Linked DNA regions of Homo sapiens: regions 1, 2, 3, 4, 5 and 6 are each linked to region 7. Evidence: promoter capture Hi-C in 16 types of primary human blood cells and fetal thymus (Javierre and others, 2016). All regions are on one chromosome and are shown on one strand. The core of a region is centred on a gene start or on the middle of the fragment in contact, and the rest is flanking DNA. Distances in the headings are between cores, read along the strand shown. Region 1 overlaps ARHGAP24 (Rho GTPase activating protein 24). Region 2 has its middle 230 kb from the start of ARHGAP24. Region 3 has its middle 210 kb from the start of ARHGAP24. Region 4 overlaps ARHGAP24 (Rho GTPase activating protein 24). Region 5 overlaps ARHGAP24 (Rho GTPase activating protein 24). Region 6 has its middle 250 kb from the start of ARHGAP24. Region 7 holds the start of ARHGAP24 (Rho GTPase activating protein 24).

Region 1 (3,432 bases), core at 48-2,547, 220 kb before region 7:
AGTGATTTTCTAAAACTAAAAGGGGATTTTTCTTATAGTTTCAACTGTGGCACATTCATTATCCTCCGATATTATTGCTCACGATTATATCCCACTATCACTCCATATGCATCCTACTAGGAAAAAAGCTTCTGTCATTACTCATCCCTTTCAATGCCTCTTTTTTCCACTGACAAGACAGGGCCATCCTCAACAAGTTGATCAATGTTCCCTTTATCTCACCATTTCTGCATGGTGTCCTTTCATATAAGTCAGCAAGGAACTCTGGCATCTTCTCCCTCTACTCAGTTGAAAGTGCTGCCCCAGATTTAGCTATGAACATGATTTGTTGGGTACTTTTATTCACAATAAGCACAATCCAGTTGTGAGTTAGGTTGAAAGAATGTTATGTCTGTGAGACAACTTCAGCAAACTAAATTGCCATTTGATGTAAAACTTAAGATGTATAACAGGGCATTCAACTTATCTTAAAATAATACAAAAGCATTACAGGCATTAAAAATGAAAATGGAAATACGCTAACAAAAGGAAGGAAACAATTCATGAATCTGAAATGACTCAGGTAAATCATTCTGCTTATTGAATTCTAGATAGGATTGTATATTTCCTGAATAAACATCTACCTTTTCCTTATTCTGATGGTAAAAATATTGTGTAAATATCTTTTCTTCCCATTATTCAAGTTACCAATCTGAATGTTAGACACTAATAAAAGTTGATGATGAAGCAGGAAGAAATAAATACATTCAATATGTATTTACTTTTAGGAATTTAAAAATAGGGCATTTTAGAACTCACTTTTAATAAAAATAAAAGCTGTTGGATCCTAATAAAACACTAATAAAAGCTGATGATGAATCAGGAAGAAATAAATACATTCAATATGTAATTTAATTTTAGGAATTTAAAAATAGGGCATTTTAGAACTCACTTTTAATAAAAATAAAAGCTGTTGGATCCTAAATGAGACCCAGCACTCCCAATCTAGTTCATATATTCTGAGAGATTAAAATAATGAAAAAGTTGGTCTATCTACAAAATACTATATTCTCATTTATCTGTGTATGGCTAAACATAGATGAAAGGAATCTGCTCATACCTCTGGCTGCCTTAAATTATTTGTAACATTGTCAATATATTTCCTTCAGGAAAATAAATTCAAGTTATACTATATCAGTACATGTCCTCTATGGAATTGTATTTGCTATTGGGTACCATATGTACTGTGGATTTGAGATAGGAAGTAACAAACACTGCATAGTATATTACACTAATTAATTTGCTGTTATTCAAATTCAACTAAGAGGAAATTAAATTAATTTACTCTAATGAATATTAACTCATATTAGTTAATTTGAAAACATTCATCTCTAATTTATTTGACTTCCTGCTATTATAACTCATCAAGTGACTTAGGTGTGAGTTATTTAGCTTCAGACTTTTAACATATTAATTTCAATATTTCAGGGTCAGTGACAATCAAATTGAGTACAAATCCTTCATTGATAATCACATTTGCTATGACAATGGGGTTGCCAGCTCAAAATAGAAGGTTGCTAGTTTACAAAGAGACCTCCCACAATAATTTGATTTTTTTCCATCTATGATATGATTGAGCATTCTTATTATGATGGAATATATTTTTATTTTTAATCTCTTTCACTGAGATAAATGAACCAGGAGTTAGCTAAACCTTCCCCATACCCATGTAACAGGCAAACATGTTAGGTGAAGGCAAACCCTGTCTTTATTGGGCACATGCCATGATCTAGGAGAATATGAACCATGGTCTTTAGAAAGTAGCAGAGAACTTACATAGTTGTGTGTCAGCATCACTTAATTTTTTATGTAGAGATGGCTAAATGCAGGAACCAAAACATTATTTTGCTTTACTTTTCACAGAAATAATTCAGAATAGATAAGCTAAAATACGCATATACAACATTAAGATCTTCCAGTTGAGATGAAGTCTGGGTATTTGAATTCTTCTACTAAAATCCCAAACAAAAAATCTGAAGATTTTGCCTAAAATACACCTTGGAGTGTTATGCATAACATTTTACCTCCACTTTAATTGTTGTTGTCGTAATTGAGCTAACAGTTGCACTTGCATTTAATTATTACCATTAATATCTTGTGTGAAATTGATAACTCAGGTATGGCATGTGGGTCTGACTTGTTATTTGAGGAGTTTTATTTAAGACAAGAGCGTCATAGCTAAAAAGCAATATCAAGATGAAGATCCATTGATATAATTAGGAAAGGAAACTCTTTAATATTTTCATATACTTGCCCAACATACTCTTTGTAGCCTGAAACTTAACCTGAGAAAACACAGTTATGTATCAATAAATATATGTATACATGTATATATCTGTTATGTAAAACACATATACACACACACACACAGAGGGTGGAGGGGCCGAGGGAAAGTCAGGGACAGTGTCTTCAAGGATGAGAAGCTTTTTTTTCTCCATGTTTGCAAACAATAGAAACATTTTCTAGTCATTTAGAGATTATAAAAATTAATGCTACTAGTACTATTAATACTTGTTAATAACAATACTAAAGGTTTTATCCATTCATTCAAAAAGTGATTGTGCTGCTCTAGATGCTTGGTATACCGTGGTGAATAGGACAGATAAAGGTCCTACTCCACTAGAGCTTACGTTTGGCTGATGAGTGAATTTTTGATATATGCCAGTGGCAGACTGATTCCAAATCCCGTGTTCTTCCGGCACCACCTAGCTGATTTACAAGTTTCTCCTGCCTTAACACCAGTGGTTCTTTCCCACTTGAACAATCCCGTAGTTTCTCTGAAATTAAAGAAGAGCTGAAGAGAAGGGACAAGATGGCTGACTAGATGCACAAGAAAGTGCTGCTCCCACCAAGAAAGACCAAAATTTTGAGTAAACAACATAATTTGAATAGATTTTCATAACGAAAATGCTAGGAGTAGACGGAGATGCAATGCAGACACTGAAGCTGAAGAGGTAGGAAGCTGTGAACCATCCGTGGGGTACTCAAATGCTAGGGCTAGTTCCTGGCCCTGAAAGGCTCCTGGGGAAGGAGTGGGTGAAGGAACTGTATGACTCTCACCATGGTCCTCTGGGATTCTAGCCACAGGGCACCCCAGGTACCCCATAAACATTTGAGTTGGGAGGCAAATCTGCCTGGAGAGTAGGCAGAGACAGGGCTTCAGCAGGCGTGGAGCCACGGGCCTTGATGCACCTAGCGGCCATAGGCACCCATGCCCCCTGGGCTTTCCATCTCCCTCTAAGAATCTCTAGCCCCAGCTAGATGCCAGGCCAGGAGAAAGTGGGGCCAGCTTCCCTGTTCTGCAGGCCCTCCTGCTCGCCAGCCTCTCCCAGGGCCCTTGCCTGGCTACCCAACAGGAGTGTGTGCATAGAGCAGCTGTTGTTGACCTGGCTG
Region 2 (3,449 bases), core at 831-3,330, 230 kb after region 7:
CCCGACGGGGCGGGGGCCACCTCTTCGATGGTCAGGGACTACTTCAGCTCTGCGCAAATCGTGGCACGGTAGTGCCGGCCGCTGCCCTGTCCGGCGTTCCTGCACACCCACGCCCTAGGGAGGCACGGTCTGTAGAGCACCGCCGCCATGGCCAGGCCGAGCGAGGGGCCCACTGGACATTTCAACTCATTCTCCTCCACTCTCAAAAAAGATGTAAGAAAACTTTTATTTTATATTCCTATCAGTTGTAGCACACAGGATGGTTAAAGGAAAGGATTTCCTGCTCTCCTATCCCCAAATCCCCTCCTTTCGCAAATATTTTTGCTCTTGTGTTTTTGAGGTCATTATCTGAATTAAGGTAAAAGAAAAACAAGTGGAGAGAAGGAGTTTAACAGGCAGTGAAAGAAGACAGGTGTTTTTAAGAAAAATAAACCTTTTAATTTGCATTTCAGAAGTCCACATGCAAAGCAAGTCCCCAAAACATGAAGAATAAAAAACAGACCCCTTCTACATACATTTCCCCTTCTCTTCTCTTTCCCAGCTTCTTCCTCATTTCCTTCCTGAATTTTCCATCCTGAAAGCCTTTTAGATGCGACAGAACAAGGTCGCTGTCCATGCAGAGGAGGAGTTTGGTGTAAGGCATGAGTCCTCAAACTCTATGGTTAATTGAGTATTCCATCTACTGATCATGCACATAAGAATGTTTGAATTCATCTCGTCGTATGACAGCTTTTTGAGGAAGAAAGGAAGGGGGTGAATATGCTTATAAGTACTTGAGATAGAAGGTGAGATATTGAGGGCCTTGGCTTTGACTGACACTAAAGCGTCAGAGAAGGAAAAGTTGCTCGGTTTAAAAAATATAAAAAGAAGGTAAGTCGTTTTGTTGTTTTTCTTGCTTTCTTGCCTGGTCCTTAAAGGAAGTTACAGAAAGGAGAAAAAGGAAGGAAGAAAGGAGAAGCCAATAAGGCAAGAAAGGCTGAGATGGGTAGAAGTTCTTTGCAGTGGCAATGCAAAGGGCAGATATTTTCAAATGGGTAGCACCTATGTCGAGAATTAAGTCATCTGTTTCACAGTATTGTATACTTCTCCTCAGACTCCACCGTGCAGCCCTCAATAAATCAATGCTTTCTATGGACGATATGGAGTAAAACTAAAGAGATGTGAATTTCATATCTGGGTCAACATATGAAAACATAAGAATTCAGAAGGAGCTAAAAAGCCATTGCAATGTAAGACTCCTGAAAATTAGCATAATTCTAGGTGCAAGGTTTTGTATTTTCACAAGCTATGGTTTTAGCAAGCTTGAGGTCCATGTATATCTACTAGGACTTGAACTGCAGTTCAACCACTTTATTAGCAATATTACCTTGAGTAAGCTAATTTTTCAGAGACTTCATTTCTTATCTGTAAAATAAACATAATGGCAGTGCCCCCATTGTGTGCCTAGAGCTTAGTAAGCACCTATTAATTTTAGCTATGTAAACTTTAAAGTGCTTGGCAAATGGGTTTGCTAAGAGCTGGGGCTCTTGAAGAGCTACTGCTACAAAGTGAAAAATGCAAATACTTTATTAAAGAAGCATCCTTTGCTATTGTGAGTAGTGCCGCAATAAACATATGTGCACATGTGTCTTTATAGCAGCATGATTATAATACAAAAAATAAAAAAAGAAGCATCCTTTAAACCAGCTTGAAATTTCCTTGAAAATCAAGTCTCTCTTGTCTTGTAAAGCAGTCCCACTATGACCTTCAGTACCCCATGGAAAGGACTGTGATGTCCCAAGAATTCTTTTCTGTCAGTCCCCGCTGTACAGTTGCTTGAGTACTTACAGAAATTGTAAGAGGGGTCATAAAGAGAAGAGTTAATTTGTCCCCCTCCAAAAATTTGCTGATATATATATATAAAACAGCTATATGTGTATATATATATATAGTCTGATTTTACAGGTTAGCTGCTCAGAGAGAAAACTGTAGAGCAACAAAGAAATAACTGGAACTGAGTGCTAAAGACAATCAATCCCAATAGAATTCTGAGGTGGTGGATCAGACCAATGAATCATCAATGCACAGGAGCTGCCACCCCTGACCAGGCCTATGGAATGGCTGGTACTCCCCTAACCTGGTGCTGAGGTGGCGAAACAGGACCAGGGCCAAAGATCTACCTCTTCTTGATCCTTTACTGTGCCCTTGATTAAGCCAGCACAGGATCTGATTTTCCCCAAGCAGGCAACTTCCTAACCACACAACCAGGCTCCCTCTAATGGAAGTGGATGTCTGGTGCTGCTAGATCTCTGTGTTGCCCTAAAGTGTAAGAAGAACAGAGGTACACACTGTTGGTACTGCTTCTGTATATTTCAGTTTCTGTTAATAAACCCAATTCCAAAGAACTTGGGATGTATGTGCAGCCTGGCTATTTATCTTTGCTTTCTTATTAGAACTCAAGGGAGTCCTCTACTTTTTGGACAATTGTTTTCTGTAATATTAGCTCTACAGTTAATTGAACATTCCACCTGCTAATCATAAAAAAAGGTAAACACAACACAGTGAGAGAGAAGGTATGCAGTTCGTGGCTGACAGTTTACTGGACAGTTCTGCACAGGAGAGTATCTGATGGGATTAAATTTAGGAGCAAAAGTAAGTGCCACTTTCTAGTTACTAGCCTTGAGCTTTTTCTAGCACTGAACCATTTCCACCTCCTCTATATCTTCTCTCAACTGTCTTGTCCAAAGACATGATTATTACTTTAATTAGCTCCTTTCTTGGATATTTCTTATTAAGACAATCTATTTTAGCAGTATATAGCTAATGATTCCTTCTTGTAATTTTGCTAAGAGAAATAACTAGTAATTTTTACAAGCTTATTTATAAATATTAGCAACCACAACCAAAAAACATAAAACATAAAGTCAGTAGCTAGATCTACACAATATTTGGAAGGGATTTAGATTATGCCCAATGTGACTCCATTTGTAAAGATTATAAAAATTCCCACTTATAAGAAAGTAAAAATTGCAAGCAGATTGCACATCTTTAAGGACATAAATAATAATCATAAGTGGGATCTACAAGCCAAGTAACAGAGGGTTGGTTGAGAGCTGAGGATAGATATGTAAAGTAAAAGGAGCTGGGGAAAGGCAGAAAGAATGGGCTATTTGAGCTAAACTCATAAATTTATATTTTTGCTTTACCAAGAAGATAGCTTCTCGTGTCCATTGAAAAACAAGAATGACAAAAATATATGAGATTGGAAGTATACTCTTTTAATACGGAAGAGTATAAGTTGAACTCTTACCAAACACCATGCACAAAAATTAACCCCAAATGGATTAAACACCTAAATGCAAGACTTAAAACAATAAAACTCTTAGGAAAAAAACAAAGGGCAAAAGCTTCACAACACTGGATTCTGCAAATATTTCTTAGATATAACAAAAAAGACACAGGCAACAAAA
Region 3 (3,438 bases), core at 427-2,926, 210 kb after region 7:
TTTATTGAATTCTGCTTATGTGGTGAATCACAATTACTGATTTGCACATGATGAGCCAACCTTGCTTTTCAGGAATGAAGCCTAATTGATAATCTTGATAATGGTGAATTAACTTTTTGAAGCACAGCTGGATTCAGTTGGATAGTATTTTGTTGAGAATTTTTGTGTCTATATTCATCAGAAATATTGGCCTGCATTTATTTTTCATGGGCCTGCAGTTTTCTTTTTTTGTGTGTCTTAAACAGGTTTTAGTATCAGAGTGATGCTTGCTTTGTAGAGTGAGTTAAGGAGGAGTCCTTCCTCCTCAATTTTTGGCATAGTTTCAGTAGAATTAGTACTAGCTCTTCTTTGTATGTCTGGTAGAATTTGGCTTTAATGCATCTGATCCAGGACTTTTTTTGGTTGGTAGGTTTTTCATGACTGATTCAATTTAGGAACTCAATATTAGTCAGTTCAGGGTCTCAATTTCTTCCTGATTCGATCTTGAAAGGTTGTGTGTTTCTAGGAATTTATTTTCTCTAGATTTTCTAGTTTATGTGCACAGTGGTGTTCATTATAGTCTCTGAAGATCTATTTTATTTCTGTAGGATCAGTTGTAATGTAATTTTTCTTGTTTCTGGTTGTGTTTATTTGGATCTTTTTTTTGTTGTTGTTAATCTAGCTAGTGGTCCATCAATCTTGTCCATCCTTTCCAAGAACAAAATTTGGTTTCATTAATTCTTTGTATGGATTTTCAGGTCTCAATTTCTTTCAGCCCTGCTGTGATTTTTGTTATTTATTTTCTTCTGCTAGCTTTGGGATTTGTTTGTTCTTATTTTTTTAGTGCCTGTAGGTGTGGTGTTAGAACATTAATTTGAGATCTTTCTAACTTTTTGAGATAGGCATTTAGCAATATAAACTTTCCTTCTAACACTCCTTTTCCTGCATCATAGAGATTTTGATATGTTGTGTCTCTTTTTCATTTATTTCAAAGATTTTTTATTTCTGCCTTAATTTCATTGTTTACCCAAAAGTCATTCAGGAGTAAGTTAATTTCCATGTACTTGTATTGATTTGAGAGATCTTCTTGGCATTGATTTCTATTTTTGTTCTACTGTGGTCCAAGAATATGATTGGTATGATTTCAATTTTTAAATTTATTGAGATTACTTTGTGGCCAAGCATGTGGTTGATCTTAGAGTATGTTCCATATGCAGATAAGAATGTATATTCTATGGTTGATGGAGTATTCTGTAGATGTCTATTAGTTCCAATATTTTGAATTTAAGTTCAGAATTGTCAGTTTTCTGTCTCAATAATCTGTCTCACACTGTAAATGGGGTGTTGAAGACTCCCACTATTATTGTCTAGTCTGGCTGTCTAAGTTTGTTTGTAGGCCTAGAAGTATTTGTTTTATGAATCTGAGTACTACAATGTTAGGTGCACATATATTTATGATAGTTAAATCTTCTTGTTGAGTTAAACTGTTTATCATGTAATAATCTTTTTACCCTAAATCTCATAGCCTTTTGCTATAAGGGATTCAATAATGTCTAGAAAATGTTTTTGAACACCCCTGGGGTTTGCTAACCCTTGACTCTCTGGGATTATGGCTGATAGAATGGTGGCTGGAGGCAAGAAAACTGGATGGTGTCTGCTTTGTCCTAAACGGATTATATGCATGAGAGATGAAAGATGAGATGATGCCAGCTTAGGGCAGGCAGAGTCTGGCATACAAGCTAAGGTCATACAAAGTATCTTTCATATGTAACTTGGCATGTTCCTAAGCAGCAAGTACTGGGGTCTACGTGGAACATTTCTAACAGGTATTCTCTCACTGTTCCAGCAATTTTCACACCTTTCCCAGTCCCATATAAACATCACTTTATAGCATTTGCATTCAATGTGATTTAATAGGAGAAGTAATTTATTCAAAATCAGTCTCCAACTGCAGAATAGTCAATTTACTTTGGAAGAATTAACAGTTAACTGTTTCAGAGGAATTTTCTTGCTCAGGCTTGTTAGAGAATCTAATCATATATGTGACTTATAAATTCAATTTCCTAAGGCTGGAATGGCACTGAGATTCCCTTGGGGTTTTGTTCATTTGTTTGTTTATACTGAAATCCATTGTGTGGTTTATGAGTGCCTAAAGTGAGTGAGAAGTCCTGACATTATTTGCAATTTGTATAACTGTGTCTGTCCACTAGATATTATGGCTTGATGCAGGTAGTAACAGCAATCCATTGCTCTAAGACTTCTAGATTCACAAGGTATTTAGTTCTCCCAGCTTTTCCATGATCTCTGGGAGGTCAAACAATCATTCTGGACTTGATTACAGATGTATCACATCAGAAATATGTATGTCAACAGTCCACTGCTCATTGTTATCAGTTTTCAGTTTCCACTGATGCACCTAGCCTGATGCTTACTCACATATTGCTAACTCATATTTTTCCAGATAGTTTAACACTGACCTTTCTATTCAAATCTGTCATAGTACCATGCTAAATATGATGCATAGCACTTAATGACACAGCGAAAACAGTCTGAAAGCGTATTGCCTTAGGTTCAACTATCTTGCCACCTTCCAGCCCTATATAGTCATTGCTTTATAGCACTTTCATACAACGTAATGTAATAACAGAGGTAACTTAATCAAACTCAGTCTCCAACTGCAGAATAGTCAATTTGCTTGTGAGAAATGAGCAATTAACACCTTTAAAGATGCTTACTTGTCCAGGCTTGTTAGAAGATCTAATTATGACATGCCTTATAAATTCAAGTTGACTACTTTGAATTGTAAGTTTTTCTCACTTTCACAATATATGTGATATAGTTATTAAGACTTTGAAAGAAAATATTTCAAGAAACCTAGGAATAAAATATAATTCATAATTTAAAAGATATATTTCTTTAGGTTTGTATTTTATTATTTTTATAATCTAATACATGTATATAACAAAATATATTATAATAGCAAAAAAATCTAGTCTTTTCACCCAAATCCTTTTTTCTGAGTCTCATTCTTTAGAAGTTACCTTGGTTTTTACATCTTCTGCTGATATCACCATAATTCTAAAGGATATGTTTATAACTAAATTCCTTGCTGTATTAAGCAGGGTTTCCCAGAGAAAGAGAGCCAATCGGCTGTATACATAAATATATTTATTGTAAGGAACTGGCTGATGCAATTATGACGGCTGACAAGTCCCAAGATGTGCAGGGTTGGTAAGCTGGGGGCTCACAAGCGCTGACGGCATAGCTCCAGTCTAAGGCCAATAGCCTCAAGACCCAGTACTAGCCAGTGTTTCAGTGTGAGTCCAAAGCAGAAAAAAGATAATGTCCCAGTCAAAAGCAATGAGGCAGAAGGAATTCTCTTTTACTCAGAGGAGGGTCAAGCTTTTTGTTCTATTTAGGCTTTTAACTGATTGGATAATGCCTAGATACATTAGGGAG
Region 4 (3,630 bases), core at 311-2,810, 250 kb before region 7:
CCCACCTTGGATCCAAGCCCCAACCTCAGGATCACCTCAGGTGATACCCCTACCTCGGCCTCCCAAAATTTTGGGATTACAGGCGTGAGCCACAGCGCCTGGCCCAGTGTTAGCTTTTTAACCTGGATCAAATTACTTCTCTGTGCCTCAGATCTGTCGTTTGCAGAATAAAGATAATGACATTGCTTGCCTCATAGAGTTGTAGTAAGGATTAAATAAAGCGATACGTGCAAACAGCCTGGAACATTGCCTGGAATACAGATGTCTAGATACTGATAAGGCTACAGACATTATAACGGATACTGTAGTACTCTCTCTAGATCCCAAAGACTGGTATATTGGTTGCTGAAGGCACAAAGAGATTCTCATGGGAATTGTTCTACAACGCAGCAGGAACAGCTTCACCCAAGTTTATCTGTCTTCCTGCTCCCAATCAATGACTAGTTAGCAAGAGGAAACAAAGCCCCAGCCCCTCAGTTTGAAGCAAACTTGAGAGGGATCACCGCCTCAGGGGACCCCACTGGATCAGCTAAGACTTCAGTTGCTACAGCGTTGCAGGGCAGGTGTTCCTGTCGCATCCTGCTTTCCTCACTTTCTTGCAGAAAAAATATCTTCGGAGAACCTTTCCCATGACAATCTAATGTCATTCTCCATCAGCGTGTTTCCTGGAATCCAATCTAAGATTATAGATAGATGTAAATAAAACGTTTTATCCCCATTATCCAGGAACTGCAGCTAAGGTCCACCCCCCACCCCCCAAAAGAGGCTAAAACTCCACATTCTAAGCTGAAAAGACCGATGGAAATTGCACCTAGCCACTTCTCTGCCAGGTTTACTGAGAGAAAGCATTGCACTTCTGAGAACCCAAATGGCCCTGACTGTTTTGAGGGGGAAACTAGAAAAGAGGAAGTGCTACTTGGAGGAAGCAGTTTTCAAAATCAGCACTGGTTTTTGAGGGGGAGGACTAGGAATTCTCCCAACTATCAGAACAAGAGTATTGCTGGTAAATTTTGATGTGTGTTAGAACAGTGACTCACTCCTTCTCTAAGTCAGGGACTCATGATGGCCTCTGAAGCTTGGCAAGCCACTGACCTTGCTGGGCACTGAAGCTGATAACCCCTGGAGAAAGTGACAAGCCAAAGGAGGCAGCAACAGTGGAACAGCCTGCATTTCCCTTACGTTGCAGGCCAGGGTACATGAGTTTCCTAGTTGCTGAATAAACACAAAGCAAGCAGCTGGCCTTTGAGGCCTTTCGCTGTATCCCATCCAACAGGACTATCCCAATGCTGGGAGAATACTAGCATGTGAAGTGGATTTCTAATTCCAGAGACCCTGAAAAATCCACAAATGCATCTGTGAAAGATTCAGCCTTTAGAGAGGAAAGTCTGTAACGACCAGTCAGTGTGAAGGGGCTATGCCCCAGCAGTATCATCTGTGTAGGAAGATCTCTACCTTCTTCCATCCGTCTCTTGGTCTCATCATCAGAAAGGAAGGCAGAAAAGTAGGAAAGGAAACATGTAAGGAGTTTCTCTTCACTTTTGCCACTAGAGTGACAAAGAGGTCTTTGCGGGAACAGGGGAGAAAAGGTCCTATGCAACAGGAAATAGTTCAACATAGCAGAGTGGGGGCAGTTTCATATGACTGAGATTCTTCCATAAGCCTGGTAAATATATGCACTTCAAGAAATATTTGTTTAGCACCATATGTTATACTGTGCTATTTCCAGGTGTTAGGTATACAGTAAAAAGCAAGAAAGATGTGGTTTCTAAATATATGGAGATACATATAGTCCTCCTTTGTCTTGTTTTGCCTATTTCTTGTCTGTTTCTTTGTCATTTTATTTTTTTCTCTGAGAAACTTCTTTCCTAAGAAAGCTAAGGCATCATTATTCCAATAACTACTCTTTATTTTTTTAAAACATTTCAAGGAAAATTCAACTAGAACACATTTAGAGAAGCAGAAACCAACTGCATGTTCTTTCTTCAAGAACTGTTCATTAAAGATTTGCCAATCTTTCTTTCTCAACCACATTTCCCAAAAGCTTGGACTTTGGCCATAATAGTTCACTTCAGTCTAAAATTTGGCATGTCTGAAAGAGAAGACTTCAAATTTGCCAATTTGGCTGATATCCCTTTGAATAACAAGTAGAGAAATAGGAAAAATTTGGAGCGAAAAATCTATAACTCATGGCATTATTCAGAGAGATAATTCATTTCATAGGATAATGAATCTATAGGAAATCAACCCTAAAACATGGTAGATTTATTTTCAGATAGGTTTTTACAAAAGCCTAAAATATGCATACAAATATAATTTGTAAACAAATATAAATAAGTAATACACAAAGACCTGAGACGCTCAATTTTATTGAAAATTCTTGTTTTTTTAATATGATTTTCCTTGGTTTCATGGGATATTTCAGCATAAAGCAAAAGCAAAAATAAAACAAAATAAAAATTCCTATATATATATATATATATATATATATATATATATATACACACATGGAAAAATTATAAGGACATACAGTGCACATATGGATAAACTGTATTCGTAACACACACACAAATGTGTACGTATGCATATAGTGCTAAAATATATGGCAAAGAGCTTGCTAGAGGCTTTTGTTAGTTTTGTTGGAAATCATTATGGGCAGATGAAATTAAAATATGTAATCCTCTCCTACTCACTCATAAACTCTGGAGAGTTAGGCTTGAGTTAGCTATCCGTAAAGATAGACACTTGTTGGGTTTGTAAGCATCATCTTTATGATAGATTTTCAGAAGTGGCAATTGAAAGAATTTTATAGAGAAAGCCAATCTAGAATAAATATGCTTTATGAGGATCTGCTGCCAGGTAGGCCCACGGCCTGCCGAGGGTTCTATACACATTACCAACCACATTTCTGCAATCCTTGCTGCCTCCTATGCATTCTGACAAATAAAAACACTCTGTTGTAACATCCCAAATTATCATGTTAAACAATTACACCATTGAAAAAATTGAAAAATATTATCTTGTCATTCCCATTTGCAAAGATAAAGTAATTGTTATGTTATCCCTAAATAACCCCAATAATGCAAATATTGATGAAAATAACCTGATACAGATCCCACATTATCACAGAAGTACAAAAGCATTTGCCTAGAAATGCCATCCTGATGTCAAGGGCACACCAGTAAAGCCCCAGTGACCAGGATGAATGACACAGACACTGGATTCTCAATGTAGTGCTTTGTCTTTCCAGCTCTGTCTTCAAAGATACATTTGGAACACTTCTCTTCACACTCCGTAAGATGATTTAGAATTATAAAACCTAATTTAGCAGCTATTACATACTGTATTAATAATTCAGGAAGCATCTTTTCAAATGATCTACTCACATACTATATTTAAGTCCATAATTACAGAAGCAAGCTTGAATTTCCTATAAATTTGTTTGAAAGGACAACCTTCATATTCCATATTACACAGTCTTAAACTTCTTAGGCTTTGTTCATCAAAAGCCATTATGTCATACGCACTGCATGTGAAACAGATGATTTAGAATAGCAATGTTGGAGAAGAGGTTTTATCTGTTACTTCCTGGTCTTGAAGACATGGCTCTCTCTAAAACAGTATTGAAAATAT
Region 5 (3,446 bases), core at 937-3,436, 200 kb before region 7:
TGAGTAGAAAATGTGTAATGTGGAGGTGCGTAAGATGAAAAATTAATGGACTGAGGGCCAGAGACCAGTAAGACCAGGGACATTATCTTAACAGATACAAGTATGCAGGGGTGACTTCTCTGAAGAAATGATTTTCATCACAGTGGATGTCAAAGGAAACCAAAATATTTCACCCCAAAATACACTTCCTCAATACATTTTGGCACGGCTGTTCAGAGGGCCCAAACAGAAGTAGCCCTGCAAATCTGTCTTTTGTGGGGGAGATTTGCATCTGTAGAGAAATAAAGTGAAGTAAACAAAAGATGCAAACAAGCTTTCTCTGAAGCCCCCCTTGTCCAGGTCTAGGAAAGATGAACTGAGAGTATGAACCTTTAAAGATCTGAGAGAAATATTCACCATCTATTCTCTCTGAGGGCTGCTACCTGCAAGCTTTCATCTACACCACAAGACCACCTTTGCTAGCCAGGTTTCTCCTCTTCTTCCTCTCATATAACTTGTCTTGCCATGCTCTAAGCTCCCCTATTCTTTCTGTAACCTCAAGATGGTATAAAAGTGTCAACCATCTTGCCTTTCTTTGAGTTCTTATATTTTGCGTGACTCCTGCGCCTGTCAATAAATTTGAATATCTTTTCTTGTGTTAATCTGCTTTTTGCAATGGATTTCTTTTAGCAAACCTTCAGAGGATAAAGGGAAATTTTCCCTTGGCCCCTACATTGCCAGCATGCATCGGACACCTCTCTGGATGCTGTAGCCTTGTACTTCCTATAACAAAATGTCCATTTTGGAGATGAGAAAGGAAAGATCCTGTTTCAACTGACTGTAAATCTGAAAATGACTAAGACTTGTTTGAATCATGTTTTTATTGTCAGTCAGAATAGGAATTTGAAATTCAGATGAATATGAGCTATATAAAAATGTAGTTACACTTTATTTTGCACTGTTTGTAGTCTGATACATTGATGCTGACTTTACAGATCATTTTTTCAACCTGACTGCCTAGAATTACAGTCTGAACAATCAGAAGCTTCCTGGTATTAATCATATTTCTCCAAATGACTTTATTATTTGGCTCTTGTTTTAATGTTTTGCTTGTGTCTTTCATTATGTGATTCCTTTAAATTCTTTTTGAAAGTACTATAAATGAAAACAAATTTGGGCATTGAACCGAAAATTCTTGATTGTGTTGAACTTTGATACTACTTTTCAAAGAAAATAGCCCTTTTGCTTGTTTGTTTGTTTTAGAGACAGAGTCTTGCTTTGTCACCCAGGCTGGAGTACAGTGGTGCAATCATAGCTCAGTGCAGCCTCAAACTCCTGGGCTCAAACGATCCTCCTGTCTCAGTCTCCTGAGTAGCTGGGACTACAGGCAGGTCACCACTATGCCATGCTAATTTTTTTACTTTTTGTAGAGATGGGGTCTCACTATGGTGCCCAGAGTAGTCCTGAATTCCTGGCCTAACGTGATCCTCCTGCATTAGCTTCCCAAAGTGTTGGAATTCAGGCATGAGTTACCATGGCAGGCCAGGAATAGCCTTTTTTTAAAATTTTTTTCCTTTTTCTTTTTTTTTTCTTTGATGGAGCCTCACTCTTTGGCCCAGGCTGGAGCACAGTAGTACAATCACAGTTCACTACATCCTCGAACTCCTGGACTCAAGTGATGCTCTTGCCTCAGTTTTCCCAATAACTGGGACTACGGGCACACGGCCCCATGTCTGGCTAATTCTCTATAGAGATAGGGTCTTGCTATGTTTTTCAGGCTGAAACAGCTCTTTAAAAACTTGATAAACTAGTAAATTAATTAGCACATTAAAATTAGTGAGAAACAAGAGCCTACAAAATGGAAAGTTAATACATAATACCAACAAACAGTTGGCTTGTGCTCATTTTTCTGACATTTGATGTTAAGTGTATCTCTGACCTAAACAGACTAGGTGTACACATGACATCACTTGCTTTTGGCCAGCAAACCTGGACTTTATTCCTTTTACAGAATCACTATTAAAATAAATGAAAAGCTCAAAGGAATTTTACCACTGAAATGTTATCAGAGGACTCATAACTGTTCATGGTTAAAAACTCACTTCATCATTAACAGCAGCAGCAGCAGAAATGAGTACATCCTTGGTGGTCTGCCAGGTCCAAAGGCTATCTGGAAATATATTCTGAATGTGAAATAGGTTAATTAAGCTCATTGTTCCCTGGCTGTCACTCTAAGGGACAGCAGGGAGGTACCGGCTGTGTGCCTAACTAGGTTGGGTAGCAAACTTGAATCCTTCCCACCCCTGAATGTGCATATAAAATGTGGGTTGCCTGCCAAGGTCAGGACTACAAGATAAATTTCTGTACATAAACATAACATATAAATGGAGGATTAAAAGCTCATTAAGATGTTGTGAGGAGGATAAAGAGAGAAGAGCAAAGCAAAAGGAAAAGCAATGGCTTGCATGTGTGTCTGTTGCTAATGACCTTTATTTAATCAAAGCTACTTGATTCAGAGGATATCCACGTTGCTCAAGAGGAATGCTTCTTGTTGTATAAAAGCCTGTACGAAATCGTTTTCCCCCAGTGTGAGTGCTCTGCTCTGCCCCCGTTGGGTTCTTCCACCCTGTGTGGCTGGAGCCTCCCTTCTGGTAGCCTCAGGAAGGCAGTGGCTCTGCTTGCTTGTTTCATGTGCTGCCACTTCTCAAGTCCTGCTCTCACCTGTTTCTTTTAATGACACTGGAATAGGAAATATGGGAATCCTTTCCTTACCATGCTATTGTACTTCAAAACAACTACTTCTTTTGACAGAATTAAAGTGCAGTATATTTAGGGAATGAGCTAACATTGCTCTCCGTGTCTCTGCAAGTCTTTGAAAAGATGAATGGGTACTGCTTGGCCCCCTCAGACACTATACTGATCTTTTCATAACCCTTTTCCTTGCTCTTCCCAACTCCAGACCTAAAATGTGCACTGTGAATACCTACAATAGGTCCTTGGGAGCCAAAAGGACCATTGGTAACAATAGGAGAAACAAGACAAACATTTAAGTTTCCTAACTCCTTGTTCAGTGTTCTTTTCCCACTTGGTTAGAGTTCAGACCCTCCACTTACCCAACACTACCAACTCCACCCCTAAACCCAGACCCCAAGCCCCAACTGAGCTGCAGATGTAAATACAGTTTCCGGGGGAGCTTGCTTAACAGTTGTTAAATTATAATGAAAAAAATCAGAGTTTGCCCCATTTAGAGGATTTTGCAAAATGATCTCTCTGAGTCCCTGGAATATGCACAGCAGCAGCAAAGAAAAATGTCAGCATTAATTTGATATGGCTTTTTGTTGCAAGCAGGACTGCTCATTAAAAGCTTAAACAGGTGGCAGGTTTGGCAGCCCAGTGTGTGTATTCTATGTACAGATTTATTATGCCTTTCATTTTAAAATATTTGTGCCGAAACAGACTCAGTGAGA
Region 6 (3,354 bases), core at 811-3,310, 250 kb after region 7:
CCAGGGCCCATGCCTGGCTACCCCAGAAGACTATGGGCCCAACACAGTCACTGCTGTACAAGCTAGGTGTTTTGCTCCACCAAGTACATTTCTGTTGTCCTGTGAACACTTCAGATTTTCCATTGCACCTATACCCAACCCTCAGTGTCCAGAGGATGAAGCCACAAGACATTCCCAGTACCCCAGGCTACACTGTGCAGCTTGGGAGTGCCAAGCTAAAATTTGTGGCTGGCATTTAATTGGGGGAGGAGCCAACACCCTCAGAACACTGAGAGGGATGAGACATGTGGTTCTGTGGGCTGGCACAAGAGTAGGACATGCCTCTTTCTGCAGGGCCAGTCCAGAAATTGTGTGAACTGTCTCCCTGTACGGCCTCTACAAAAGTAAGCCCCATAGCCTGAAACACCTAATAAAAGAAAACCAAGTACAGTGCCAGTGATTGGAGGGGGCTCCCAGAGGCCCAGGAGTAGACCTGATGAGAGGGTCACCTCTCCTCCCCCAACACCATAGAGTATGGCTGCAAACATGAGGAAATACATAGGAATCACATGGCTAAGCACGTCTATCTTCCAGCAGTTACTCTTTAGCATCATCTATTGGCTCACAGCCCAAACTGCAACGCCAAAAATATTTTGCTAATATATCCCCCTATGAAACCAAGGGCAAGAATTCAGCTACAAATAAAAACCCTGCACAGAGCCTTGACCCTCTAAAAAGATTTTTAAAAATCCAACTGACTTCACTACAGTGAAGTTGACATTCCTTTAACTTACACCACAGTTAAAGGAACACCAACCCTCCCAGATGAGAAAGAATCAGCACAAGAACTCTGGCAATTCAAAAATCGAGACTGTCCCCTTCTCCAAGCAATAGCAATACCACTAGCTCCCAGCAATGGTTCTGATATGGTTTGGCTGTGTCCCCACCCAAATCTCATCTTGAATTGTAGCTCCCATAATTCCCACATGTTGTGGGAGAGACTGGGGGGAGATAATTGAATCATGGGGGTGGTTTCCCCCATACTGTTCTCATGGTACTGAATAAGCTTCATGAGATCTGATGGTTTTGTGAGGGAAAACACTTTCCCTTGTTCTTATTCTCTCTTGTCTGCCACCATGTGAGATGTGTTTCTTGCTTTCTATCATGATTGTGAGGGCATCCCAAACCACGTGTAACTGTGAGTCCGTTAAACCTCTTTTTCTTTATAAATTACCCAGTCTCAGGTATGTTTTTATCAGCAGCATAAAAATGGACTAATACAGGTTCTCAACCAGTCTCAAATGACAGATAGAGTTCATAATCTTAAAGACAAAGAAGCTCATTAAGATACAAGAAAAAGTTGAAACAAAATCCAAGGAATCCACTAACACGATCCAAGAGTTGAAAGATCAAATAGCCATGTTGAGAAAGAAGCAAACCAAACTCCTAGTGCTGAAAAATCCTTTATAAGAATTCCATAATACAATCTGAAGTATTAACAGTAGAATAGACCAAGCTGAGGAAAGAATCTCAGAGCTTGAAGACCAGGTCTTTCAATCAACTCAGTCAAACAAAAATTAAGAAAAAATAATTTTAAAAAATAAACAAAATATCCAAGAGATATGGGATTATGTTAAGAGACTAAATCTATGACTCATTGGCATTCTGAGTGAGAAGAGAGAAAAAGCAATTTGAAAAATATATTTGATGATATAGTCCACAAAAGCTTCTCCAATCTCACTTGAGATTAAAGAAACACCTTCATTAAGAAATTATAAAGGTCTCAAATTAGCAATCTAACTTAGCACCTAAAGGAAGTAGAAAAACAAAAATAAACCAACACAAAGCTAGCAGAAGAAAAAAATAATTGAAATTAGAGAAAAACTGAGTGAAATTGAGATGCAAAAATCCATTCAAAAGATGAAAGAGGTTTTTTTTTTTTTTTTTCAGAAGAATGAACAAGATCGGTAGAGTGCTAGCTAGATTAACATAGAAAAAGGAAGAGAAGATAGAAGTACGAGCAGAAATGACAAAGATGGCATTACAGCTGATCCTATAGGAAAAAAAAAAAGATTCCCAGACACTACTATAAAGAAGTATGCACACAAATTAGAAAATCTAGAGCAAATTGATAAATTCCTTGAAACACACATTCTCCCAAGATCGAATCAGGAAGAGATTGAAACTCTGAATAGACAAATATGGAGTTCTGAAGTTGAATCAGTAATAAAAATCCTAACAACCAAAAAGAAAATCCCTAGACCATATGGATTCATAGCCAAATTCTACCAGATGTACAAAGAAAATCTGATATCGATCCCACTGAAACTATTCCAAAATATTGAAGAGAATGGGCTTCTTCCTAACCCATTCTATGAAGCCAACATCAGCTTGATACCAAAACCTGGAAGAGGAACAATGCAAAAAGAAAGCTTTAGATCAATATCCTTGAAGAACATGGATGCGAAAATCCTCAACAAAATACTAGCAAATCAAACCAAGGAATATATTAATAAAATTAATTCACCACAATCAAGTATGCTGTATTCCTGGGATACAGGCCTGGTTCAACATATGCAAATCAGTAAATGTGATGCACCACCTAAATGGAATCAAAAGCAAAAACCATATGATTCCAATAGACATGGAAAAAGCATACAATAAAATCCATCATCTCCTTATGATAAAAAAAAACCTCTTAACAAACTAGACACCAAAGTAGCATACCTCAAAATAATAACAGGACATCTATGACAAATCCATAGTCAACATCAGATTGAATAGACAAAAGCTGGAAGTATTCACTTTGAGAGATGGAACAAGACAAGGATGCCCTCTCTCACCACTCCTATTCAACATAGTACTGGAAGTCCTAGCCAAAGCAATCAAGAAAGAGAGGAAAATAAAAGGCATCCAAATAGGAAAAGAAGTAAATTTATTTCTCTTTGCTCATGGTATGATTCTGTGAAAGGCTCAAAAGACTCTGTGAAAGGCTCCTAGAACTGATAAATGACTACAGTAAAGTTTCAGGATACAAAATCAATGTACAAAAATCAGTATCATTTATATATATATCAATAATGTACAGACTGAGAGTAAATCAAGAAAATAATCCAATTTACAATTGCCACAAGTAAAATGAAATACCTAGGACTACATCTCAACAAGGAGGTGGAAGATCTCTATGAGAAAAACTGTTGATGAAAGAAATCAGAGGTGACACAAACAAATAACAAACATTATATGCTCATGGATTGGAAGAATAAATACTGTTTAAATGGTCTTACTGCCAAAAGAAATTCATATATAAGTGCCAACTTCAAACTATACTATAAGCCTACAGTAATCAAAACAGCAAGTTATGGGTAAAAAAGT
Region 7 (3,629 bases), core at 557-3,056:
TTGCTACCTGAAGGCCAGGCAGTCAGGGAAGATAAAATGGTAACTTTTATTACTGAGCTCTCTTACAAGTTGAAATATGCCCAGAAAAGAGGAAGAATTAAGAAATTTAAAAGGGGGAGTGAGATCTTCACAAGTCTGATGTGACTTTATGGCTGTTTTCTGGCTTTTTCTAATACATACATTCTGTGTGTTTTATTTTACAATGCCCAGTTCAATAGCGTCATCCATTTTTGCCCTGAAGGATTGGTTTTGAGTTCTAATTGGAACTGGGGACAGATTGTTTGTATTTAATCCGTCTGTACATCTTCTACTCAGTAACTGAGTAAAGCTCTTAAACTCTACTGCAAATATCCCTGGATTCCAATGAATTTGTCTTACTTAGTAGACATAGCAACACATATTGTTTTATTTATGTATTTATGTATAAGCAAAGCCTTAACAACTTTTATATTCCAAATACTCAGCACGATTTATTTATTTCCTTTTTAGAAAGAGATGAAACAATGATGCCGTGGAAGGTTAAAAAAAGAGTAACATAAAATGTGCTGGAAACAGAAATTACTTGGAGAAATTACTTGTTTAATTCAAATGAATTAAACGAGATATAGTCTACAAAGAAGTCTGGGCTCCCTATTACTGGTTGATGCTGAAAATCTATCTAAGGAATTCAGAGTAACATTGTCTCCCTTCTATTTGGGTACGTATAAAATAAATGTAGTCTTAAGTATTTTCTAAAAACGAGACCATATTACATGTTTATCATTAAATGTTATTTTTAAAAACATTTGGACAAAATCTTTTGAGTGGCTTCAAATTCACCAAAGATTCCCTAACGTTTTGTGTTTACAAATATATGTATATATTTTATAATATATATTTCTAATATGTAATATATTTATAAATATTTTAAAACATATTTTATACATATAAAATATATATTTTTGCAAATATATATGCTTATTATTAAAACCTATCTTTGTGCGCCTGTTACATAGGGAACTCCTATAAGATACTAGAGGAAACAAACAAGGGGAAGGGGAGGATGGATACCAAGAGAGGAAATTGAATTGTACAAAGGGTTTTTATTAATTCCATCTATTTTTAAAGCCAGAAAGACATACTACCAGCTTGCTGTCTCCCGGCACAAACATGCGCGCGCGCGCACACACACACACAAACACAGACAGGCTACATCAGCACGGGATTCCTGCGATCCCTCCCCGCCCCCCGCAGCCCCCTCCCCGCCCCCCGCAGCCCCCTCCCCGCCCCCCGCAGCCCCCTCCCCGCCCCCCGCAGCCCCCTCCCCGCCCCCCGCAGCCCCCTCCCCTGGCGCAGGCAGCCGCGTCCGTCCTTCCCGCGGTAGCTCCGCGCACTTCCTCGCGACCGCATCACCTACCTTGCTGGGAGCTCAAGACAGATGCCGGACAGGGCTGCTGCTCCGAAGGAAAAGGCTCCCAGGACCAGCAGTAAGAAAACGCAAAGAAAAAAAGGTGGTAGTGAGGCTCCTTTACTTTCCACAACAAGGGGAAGTGTTGAACTCTATGCACTGGGCTGCTCCGCAGCGCGGGTTTCGGAGGAAATAGGCGGCCGAGAGAGCTGCGCCTGCGATGGGAAGTTGGGGGGATTCCCCCAGCCACCCAGCCACCCCCGCCAGGCTCCTCTCTGGTCCCCGCCGCAGCCTTGACAGCTCCCCTGGTCTCCGAGCCCCTCCAGAGCCCTGCTGGTTTCCACCCGGAGCTGGGCTGTGTTGCCACATGCACTTGAGAAATCCTAGCAGTTGCGCAAAGAGTCCCAGAAGTTAGAAAGGGTGATTGTGTGTGAATGTGTAAATATACAGTACAAGAGGCTGGAACAACTGAGTGGGGCCAACCCTCAGACACAGCTCGAGGTTTCAGATTTCATTTGGCAACTGGTAGCTTCACAGGACTCGAGCCGCACTACAGGGGAGGCCGGCAGGAGCCCCGCCCTCCCAAAGCCTGGGTTATCTGAGAGCTGGAGCTACACCGCCTGGCGCCACTGACAGAATGCGCCCTGCCTGGTTCCTCCGCATCTGGCATCGCTCGTTCCTTTCAAGTGCATCATAGATACTTGTTGGCCACAGATCTGGGGCTGTGGGCGCGAGAAGGTTGGTGAATACATGTCTCCTGCCCTCAAGGAGCTCTGCATTTCATTGGCCAAACCCCATACACCGGTTTTACTTGCTTCTACCAACTCTGTCTCGCTAACATTTTATTTCTCCAATTAGAATTACCTGGGCCATTAAAGCAATATTCCTGGAAATGCACATTTAGATGGATGCTCTCTAACTAGAGCCTTAGAGAAATTCAAAGTATAATTACTTTCTTACGGTGGTGTAAGAACTCTCGGAGTTACACAATATGGGACAAAAGGACAAACTAGTAAACATTGTTTTGATGCAGGCCGTCTCTTCCCACCATCACCACAATGTCTGTTTCAAATTGTGATCTTACAGTTCTGGTTACCTGGCATGCTGAGTCAAATTATTTCAAAAAGCTTTGTAAAGATCTCTGTTTTAGAAACCCACTTACAGTGGATCAGTCATGCAATCCTAGCACTTTGGAAGGCTGAGGCAGGAGGATCGCTTGAGCCCAGGGGTTTCAGACCAAAATTGGCAACATAATGAGACTCCTGTCTCTATAAAAAAAAAATTAAAAAAATAAAAAAAAAGTTGGGCGTGGCGGCGTATGTCTGTAGTCCCAGCTACTCAGGAGGCTGAAGCGGGAAAATCCCTTGAGCCCAGGAGGTCAAGGCTGCAGTGAGCTATAATTGTGCCAGCGCACTCCAGCCTAGGTGACGGAGTGACACCCCCGTCTCGAACAATTACTACTGCTACTACTAATAAAAGAAACTCTCTTTTAGAAATCATCACCAGATATCCTTAAGACACAGAATGGGGGTGTCCTCACTAGGGATCTCCAGTGAGAGAGGGATATGGAAGAAGAGCAAATGTTTAGTTTTAGAAACACCAAAAATAAAAGGCTGAGTGGACACTGATATGTTTTTCCTTTTTGTCCTCTTTCTCCAAGTTCTTGGAGAAACGAATCTACCCCATCCCATGCTGAGGTCCTACTATAAACTTGATTTTCTGGTGGGAGAATTCTCAGCCCTTTAATGAATCAAATTAATTTGTGTGGGGAAAAAATTGCGTTTCATATTTCATTTTAAAAATATGTATGGAATTCCTAAGCTAGAAGTAATGTAGCTTATTTTCCAATTGGTGGGAATAAATTACCTTCATCAACCCACATGGCCTTACATGTTCTAGCAACACCCTAGCAGGTGAATGCTGATGGGCAGTTTCAGATGAAAGCTGGAAAATAACATTAACCCAAATGAAATTTGCACACATTTGATGGACTCAAAAGCCTCAGGAAGACAAGTACCAATAATTATGATTCAAGATGGGGACATTTAAAAAAACAAGGAAACTGTCATGTCAGTAATTTATTTCAGGGTCTAACAAATATTACCACAGCAGTTTAGTCTCAAAGTGATACAAAACTGAACTCAGGGTGGTTACTGGGTAGTCCCTAGTCCAAAAGATTAAGACACACCTCTAATACACACACAGGCTGTGTTCAAGGCCTTTTCCTTCCCATCTTCTGGTT

Evidence for each region. Contacts are between HindIII fragments. The CHiCAGO score rates a contact against its expected background, and 5 or more counts as called.
Region 1: a fragment that was not itself captured here is called in contact with the fragment with the promoter of ARHGAP24 in region 7 in 5 of 17 cell types (total B cells, naive B cells, M2 macrophages and 2 more); the score reaches 23.3 in total B cells.
Region 2: a fragment that was not itself captured here is called in contact with the fragment with the promoter of ARHGAP24 in region 7 in 2 of 17 cell types (total B cells and naive B cells); the score reaches 6.7 in total B cells.
Region 3: a contact is called between a fragment that was not itself captured here and the fragment with the promoter of ARHGAP24 in region 7, in 1 of 17 cell types (naive B cells). The highest score is 5.4, in naive B cells.
Region 4: a fragment that was not itself captured here is called in contact with the fragment with the promoter of ARHGAP24 in region 7 in 7 of 17 cell types (total B cells, naive B cells, M2 macrophages and 4 more); the score reaches 21.0 in total B cells.
Region 5: a fragment that was not itself captured here is called in contact with the fragment with the promoter of ARHGAP24 in region 7 in 6 of 17 cell types (total B cells, naive B cells, M1 macrophages and 3 more); the score reaches 25.2 in total B cells.
Region 6: a contact is called between a fragment that was not itself captured here and the fragment with the promoter of ARHGAP24 in region 7, in 2 of 17 cell types (total B cells and naive B cells). The highest score is 9.5, in total B cells.

What each region holds. Positions count from the first base shown.
Region 1 is chr4:85,693,641-85,697,072 of GRCh38, reverse strand. The region is part of intron 2 of ARHGAP24 (Rho GTPase activating protein 24); the gene reads right to left. Among named protein-coding and RNA genes, the nearest start is that of MIR4451, 27 kb to the left of the region's middle. The HindIII fragment of the contact is 2,334 bases long and covers 131-2,464 here.
Region 2 is chr4:85,242,857-85,246,305 of GRCh38, reverse strand. It overlaps the pseudogene LOC100526736. Among named protein-coding and RNA genes, the nearest start is that of ARHGAP24, 230 kb to the left of the region's middle. The HindIII fragment of the contact is 1,553 bases long and covers 1,304-2,856 here.
Region 3 is chr4:85,268,226-85,271,663 of GRCh38, reverse strand. No RefSeq gene overlaps it. Among named protein-coding and RNA genes, the nearest start is that of ARHGAP24, 210 kb to the left of the region's middle. The HindIII fragment of the contact is 3,414 bases long and covers 1-3,383 here.
Region 4 is chr4:85,723,361-85,726,990 of GRCh38, reverse strand. The region is part of intron 3 of ARHGAP24 (Rho GTPase activating protein 24); the gene reads right to left. It overlaps LOC124900728 (a long non-coding RNA gene), which reads right to left. Exons shown (of 2, transcript XR_007058169.1): 2 at 2,347-3,630. Among named protein-coding and RNA genes, the nearest start is that of MIR4451, 2.7 kb to the right of the region's middle. The HindIII fragment of the contact is 966 bases long and covers 1,078-2,043 here.
Region 5 is chr4:85,676,165-85,679,610 of GRCh38, reverse strand. All of the region lies in intron 2 of ARHGAP24 (Rho GTPase activating protein 24), which reads right to left. Among named protein-coding and RNA genes, the nearest start is that of MIR4451, 45 kb to the left of the region's middle. The HindIII fragment of the contact is 2,319 bases long and covers 1,027-3,345 here.
Region 6 is chr4:85,225,687-85,229,040 of GRCh38, reverse strand. No RefSeq gene overlaps it. Among named protein-coding and RNA genes, the nearest start is that of ARHGAP24, 250 kb to the left of the region's middle. The HindIII fragment of the contact is 706 bases long and covers 1,708-2,413 here.
Region 7 is chr4:85,473,327-85,476,955 of GRCh38, reverse strand. It overlaps ARHGAP24 (Rho GTPase activating protein 24), which reads right to left and starts at 1,806. Exons shown (of 10, transcript NM_001025616.3): 1 at 1,397-1,806. The HindIII fragment of the contact is 5,990 bases long and covers 1-2,516 here.